2 separate regions of the Homo sapiens genome follow, and region 2 is linked to region 1. Evidence: promoter capture Hi-C in human tissues and cell types (Jung and others, 2019). All regions are on one chromosome and are shown on one strand. The core of a region is centred on a gene start or on the middle of the fragment in contact, and the rest is flanking DNA. Distances in the headings are between cores, read along the strand shown. Region 1 holds the start of SLC26A6 (solute carrier family 26 member 6). Region 2 has its middle 28 kb from the start of PLXNB1.

Region 1 (3,306 bases), core at 557-3,056:
GAGACACAGTGAAGGCATCCCTGGCCCAACCTCCCCTACACCTCCACCTAGGACCAGAGAGTTACCTACCTGATTTTTCCAGGCCCTAAGATCAAGGTACAGTATTCCAGCCCCCAGCTGGCATCTGTGGGCCACATGTCCAAACTCAGACAGGGGCAGTACCTGAACTTTGGCTGGTGAGAAAGCCTCTTTCTAGGACAAAGTCCCCCAAGTAGGGACTGCAGGATGAGCACTAGCTATACCTCCAGCCGAGATGTGGCAGCCCAGTGCTGAGTGTTCTACCAGTCCAGGTCCCAGGCTGCTCCCTCCCCCACCCAGTCCCTCTCCAGTCCCCAGGTCCTCCTCCAGCTGCCCCGGGAGCCCACTGCTGGCTGAGAGCACACTCAGGGAAGGGGTCCAGCAAACCAGGGGTCCAGCTCCTCAAGCAACTCCTTTCCCAAGCCTCAGGCCTCAGATGAGACCCTCCCCTCTAAGGGAAGGAAAGTGTTGGAGCCAAGCTTGCCCCTGGGCCTCCAGCCCCAGGGTCCAGGTTGTAGACGGCTCAGGCCTGTTATGGGGAAGCCAAGGACTGGCTCTCACCTGAGAAGGAGCTTGCTCTTGGAGTGGCAATCTCTCACCTAGAGGGAGAGGCTCCCACATGGAAAGGGAAGTACCCACTTGAAGTGGGGGAAAGAGCTCACCTGGGAATAGAAGCTTTCAAGGGGAATCTCACCTAGAGGGATCTCTGACCTACCAGGGAATCTTTATCAGCCTGGCAAGTTCTGATACAGGGGGAATCTTCCCTCTGCCCAGAGGCACCTACTTGAAGTCAGAGAAAGATCTCACATGGGAAGAAAAGACCTAGAGGGAGAGGGTTCTCACCTGGGGGGTACTCTCCCATAGAGAAAGCTCTGACCTCGGGCGAGGCTCCCACGTGGAATGGGGAAAAGCTGTCACCTGGGAATAGATCTCACAGAAGGATCTTACCTGGGGGAAAACTCTAGCCTGTTGGGGAAGCTTTCACCAGTCAGGAAAGTTCTGATCTAGGAAAAGCCCTGACCTGGGGAGAGGATCCCATTTGAGGGACAGGAACTCACCTGGGAAGCGCCTCTAACCTGGCTGTACTGTTGGAGGAGTGTGGAGTGGGTGCAAGGAAGATCCTCAGAGACTCTTGGGACCGCTATCTCAAGGAGATCGTAGAGCCCCCTCTCCTTTCCTACGTGAGTCACTCAGGTCTTCTTAAAGGGCTCCCTCCCCCGACAACTTGGGACCCGCGTTTGGAGGGCGGAGCCTTGATCATTGGCCCCTCCCTGTAGGAAGGCAACTGGGGCCAGAAAGGCCGGAGCGCTCACTCCGGGATCAGTGGAGCTGGGTGGACTCGGGACTCAGCTGAAAGCAGCTAGTCCACGGGCCGCTGCCAGGGACTCCCGTGCCCCACGCACCCCCGCCGGCACATCTCCTGGCCGGGCTCCTCCGCACGCAGCTGCCTCCCTGTGGCCCGGGATGGCCCTCGGGCGTCACACCAGCGGCTTTCCGCACAGCCCAAGGGACTGGGGTCGCGCCGGCTCCCGCCCCCACCCCTTGCTGCAGAGGGGCAGCCGCCTGCAGAAAATCAGCAGAGGTAAACCGAGGCGTCGCAAGCGGAGAATGCCTGCTCCAGCGAGGCGTCGCAAGCGGAGAATGCCTGCTCCAGCGAGGCGCTCGCGCGGGGCCACCGGGAATGTGCGCTGAACTCACCCCGACGCATCCGCCAGCCCCATGGCTCGCAAGTTGTCCGGTGCGGGCTGCTCCTGCTGCTCGAGCTAGAGGCCGCTACGCTCCGGAAGGCGGCGCCGGGACCGGGTGAGGCCAGCTGCGCTCTCCCGGGGGCTAATCCCGGGGCAGGACGGGGAGGCTTGGGCCAATCAGCGCGCTGGGGCGGGGCCTAAGTGGCGCGCGCCGGGCGGGGAGAGACTGGAGAAGGAGGATTTAACCGCTTCCTCCCCGGCGACCTGGCCTATGAGGCCTCTCGCTGCTCGCCCGGCCCTCTGCCCGGAGCTGGATGGGACTGCAGAACTGGAACTAAGCACCCGCGCCGGGCTGGCCGCAGTCGCGCCCCCAGGCCCTGAGTAGGTTGGAGCTGATCCCAGGTCCTGGCTCGGCGGAAGGTGCTCACGGAGTGGGAAAAGGAAACTCCACTGGCCGGTGACCCCAGCCTTAACTCGTAGGGGATCCAGGTCTGTGGGGCCTCTCTTGCCTTCAGCTGAGAGCGCCACCCGCAGGCTTTCTGCGACTACGCATCTCTTTGAGACCCGGAGCCAACGGTCCCCAAGTCCTCCCCTTTAACTCTGGCCACCCAGGCCAGAAATGGTTGGAGGATCCCCTCCGCTGCACTAAGCACAGCCCGGACGTAGCTCCCAGAAGGTTACTGCGCGGGCCGCCGAGGAGAATGGTGGGGGTCAGTGCTGTTGGGTGGGCGTCAGTGCTGTTGGGTGGGCAAGGCAGGAACTGCAAGAGCAGTTCCTCAGGTTGGTTTCACCGCAGGTGAGGGCAAAAAATGCCGGGTCAGGGCTGCAGACCCTGAAGAATTAGGAAGTCCTGTTGCCGTTGCCTTGACCAGCGGGGAGGTTTTCCTTAGCACCTTATTTTCAGCACCTGTGCTCCAACATCAGGCCCCAATTACAAAGTGAGGGGCCAGATTTCAAGGTGAAAGAGATCTGCCATGAAATGGGCTAAAAATAGCTGGATATTCTTGGGAGGGGCTCAGATTCCTCCCAAAGGTCAGTCTGGCTTGAATCATTCACAGCTTCCATCCTACCTCCCCAGCCCCCAACAGGAAAAGGCAACAACTGTTTTCTATAGAAGTTTATTCCCAAAACAGAGCGCGGCTTCACGGAACAATTTACACAGACAGGAAAGAGGGCCGCTGGGCTGGAGGAGGGGAACCCCAGAGAGGGGCATCTACGAAACCTAGGACATAGTAAAGACACCCTCCCACCCCCAGCAGGCCACTCAGCCCTTCAAGAGCTGGGGTCCTTCTCGGTAAGGAGAGTTTGGGTCCTGGCTGGTGGGATTTAGCTCCAGTCAGGGAAGTAGAATTTCTAATCTCCCAGGAAGCTGCTTCCCAAGAGTATGCATGGGGTGGTGGGTGAGGAGGTGTCTGCACAGACCACCCCCCAGCCCTGCACAGCCACTCTCCCCCGTGGTTAGAGGACGCCTACTCTCAAGGTCTTCTGGATCTGCTGTTAAACGGGACTCAAGGCTGACCTTCGGCCTGGGAGACCTGGGGGTTAGAAAACCCCTCAAGATGGCCAGGTCAGGGTCCTCACAGGTGGGTCCTCCAAGTCC
Region 2 (3,081 bases), core at 430-2,929, 230 kb before region 1:
CACTGACTCAGCAGTCAGAGGCTGTGGGTAACACTGCTGCCCCCTTTGCCAGCTTATAGGTGACAGAGGCTTCTATAGTCACTCACCGCTGGATAACTACTCCCCTTTTTGTCCTTCACACACTTTCATAATCAATCCCTTATATTTAAATTCCTTCCATTGGAAACACCTAGAGTGGTTTCTGGTTTTTTGTTGTTGTTGTTGTTGTTTTCTTTTTGAGACAGAGTCTCATTCTGCTGCTCAGGCTGGAGTGTGGTGGCATAATCTCAGCTCAGGCTGGAGTGTGGTGGCATAATCTCAGCTCAGGCTGGAGTGTGGTGGCATAATCTCAGCTCACTGAAACCTCTGCCTCCCAGGTTCAAGTGATTTTCCTTCCTCAGCCTCCCCAGTAGCTGGGATCACAGGTGCACACAATCACACCCGGCTAATTTCTGTATTTTCAGTAGAGATGGGGTTTCACCATGTTGATCAGGGTGGTCTCGAACTCCTGACCTCAAGTGATCCACCCACCTTGGCCTCCCAAAGTGCTGGGATTACAGGTGTGAGCCACTGTGCCCGGCTGTTTTCTTGACTAGTCACTCACTGTTATCTCAACTATGTCCTAAGACATAGCTCACCCTAAAACCAGAATTCACGTTAAAGACAGGGTAAGATTACTCACTAAGCTCCAGCACTACTGAATTCCACTGTTGTGATTTCTCTCTCTCTTTTTTTGAAGAGACAGGGTCTCACTGTCACCCAGTCTGGAGTGGAGTGGCATAATCTTTCACTGCAGCCTCAAACTCCTGGAGTCCAGCAATCCTCCCACCTCAACCTCTTAAATAGCTGAGACTACAGATGTGTGCTACCATGCCCAGCTAATTTTTAAACAGTTTTCGTAAAGATGGGGTCTGGCTATCTTGCCCAGGCTTGCAATTTATAGAGCTCCAGACACCCTCATTGGTAGCTGCTTCTGATAAATTCCACACTATGGCCAGAAGATGGCAGCAAACCACCAGCTTCAGCCACTTACCTGTGGCCCAGGACACCGGACCAGGTTTCCAAAATCTGAGCTTCACATTCCTAGACCTCCAGAGGTTCTCTTCATGGCCACCTGGACAACTGGCAAACCATTCTGTTTCCTTACACGTGCACATATCATCCAGATAACTGAAACTCTTATCAATAAAACCCCAACATCACAACCAGGGCATAAATTCTCTTTCAAACATCATGGTGATATCCTTATCTTAGATTTTTGGTAAACATTTGGAATTGGATAAACCATCATCCTTAATTAAGACAGAGAACACTTTTTTTTTTTTTTTTTTGAGATGGAGTTTTGCTCGTCACCCAGGCTGGAGTGCAGTGGCGCGATCTCGACTCAGTGCAACCTCCGCCTCCCGGGTTCAAGCGATTCTCCTGTCTCAGCCTCCTGAGTAGCTGGGATGAGAGGCGCCCGCCACCACACCTGGCTAATTTTTTGTATTTTTAGAAGAGACGGGGTTTTGCCATGTTGGGCAGGCTGGTCTCAAACTCCTGACCTCAGATGATCCGCCTGCCTCGGCCTCCCAAAGTGTTGGGATTACAGGGGTGAGCCACTGCGCCTGGCCGACAGAACACTTTTAAAGAGAGATCCATAAAACATCGCCAGTCAGCTGACCTAGGTAGTTTGGGGTGTATTTGTTCTTCAATGTGGCATCCTTAGGGAACCTGGTGGAGGAAACACATGCATCAGCAGCCATTGGTGCCAAGCAGAACACAGCTAGGTTCCCTGTATCCCCCAGCACCACCCAGAGTCACCTGTTGGCACTGGCCAGTGGGATCCAGGTCCTGACCATTTGGAAGGTTTCAGGTGGCTTCTAAGAATTCCAACATTCATCAGCATAAATTCAGCTGTTATCTTAATTAGCACGATTATTTCAGTATCAGAAAATTAATAAAAATATAGAACTCCTGGGTCATGTAACCATTTGGACAATTATTCCAACTTTTAAGTTGGTGAAAACGCTTTTTAATAAAGCACATCACTCCATAAAACGCCTTAAGGAGCCCCGGGTGGTAATGAGAAACAAAGGCCCTTTGTATGCTAACAGGTTTGTGAAAAATGTAATAATGAGGGCACACTTTCGTTGCAGTCTTAATAAAAATTAGGAAAAGATTGATCAAACTGAATTACAAATGTTCTATGCTGAAATTGTGGTCATGACCCAAGTTAAGCGATCACAAATTCTTGCTGGTGTTGGAATCTCCATTCTTGGTCATGGTTTGGAGTGAAGACAGAATTTCCTATCTTCTTGTGCCAGGTTTTTCTTCTCTATGTCTGTTATTATAACAATGTTCTGTGGCGGCTGAGCCATGACTCAGTGAGTGACTCAAAGCACGTTCAGTACTCACCCCTCCCGCGGGCACGTGCCCAGGCTTGCAGGCACATGGCCCCCCTCTCCCGGGAGCCTTCACCTACCCCTAAAACCTGCAGGGGCCTGAACCTGGAACAGAGAGGCCTCTGGAACAGAGGCATGGCTCTGTCGAGGTCTGTGGTGCTGACCAAGGCTGCTTCCCTCTGTGTCTGCTTGAAGTCCACCCTCAAGTGGATTTCCCATCCACCCTGCTCCCAGAGATGGTCAAGATGGAGACCCATTCCATGGTCTCCAACGGGAAAAGTCAGGACCATTCTGGGTGGCTATGAAAACCTGGCCAGAGCATCCAAGCTCACATGCTCCCAAATGATGGCACCTGGCTGCTGACCTGACTGTGGTCCCCACATCCGGCAGAAATGGGAAAGAAGGGACAATGGAGCCACAGCGAAGAATAGCAGCTATGACTACCCCCGGCACAGACAAGACCAACATGGCTCCTTAGGGACAAGGACTTTGTGGATTGTAGGGGCAACCCTACAGTGGATGGCTTTATTTAGGGCCAAAAAAAGGCAGGGGATAGGAGTCCTCCTGGAATTCTATCAGTCTGTCTCTCTCTAAACACTCAATGAAGACCTCGAGGGGAGGTTGTGGTCTCTGTGCCAGACGAGAGGAAATGCTAAGGGTCACTGGGTTATGGAGGATAAGCAGAGGGCCAAAGGGATGATCCCTCTGAAGGCCTCAA

What was found. The method cuts DNA at HindIII sites, captures the fragments that hold promoters and counts their contacts. A contact is called where the count stands out against the background at its distance.
Region 2: a contact is called between a fragment that was not itself captured here and the fragment with the promoter of SLC26A6 in region 1, in 1 of the 25 tissues and cell types used here (spleen).

The regions. Positions count from the first base shown.
Region 1 is chr3:48,633,655-48,636,960 of GRCh38, forward strand. It overlaps SLC26A6 (solute carrier family 26 member 6), which reads right to left and starts at 1,807. Exons shown (of 21, transcript NM_022911.3): 1 at 1,717-1,807. The coding sequence starts at 1,739. It overlaps CELSR3 (cadherin EGF LAG seven-pass G-type receptor 3), which reads right to left. Exons shown (of 35, transcript NM_001407.3): 35 at 2,809-3,306. It overlaps MIR6824 (microRNA 6824), which reads right to left and starts at 44; the gene lies at 1-44. RefSeq lists silencers at 1,246-1,345, 1,736-2,015. The HindIII fragment of the contact is 9,287 bases long and covers 845-3,306 here.
Region 2 is chr3:48,400,078-48,403,158 of GRCh38, forward strand. No RefSeq gene overlaps it. Among named protein-coding and RNA genes, the nearest start is that of PLXNB1, 28 kb to the right of the region's middle. The HindIII fragment of the contact is 5,455 bases long and covers 1-3,081 here.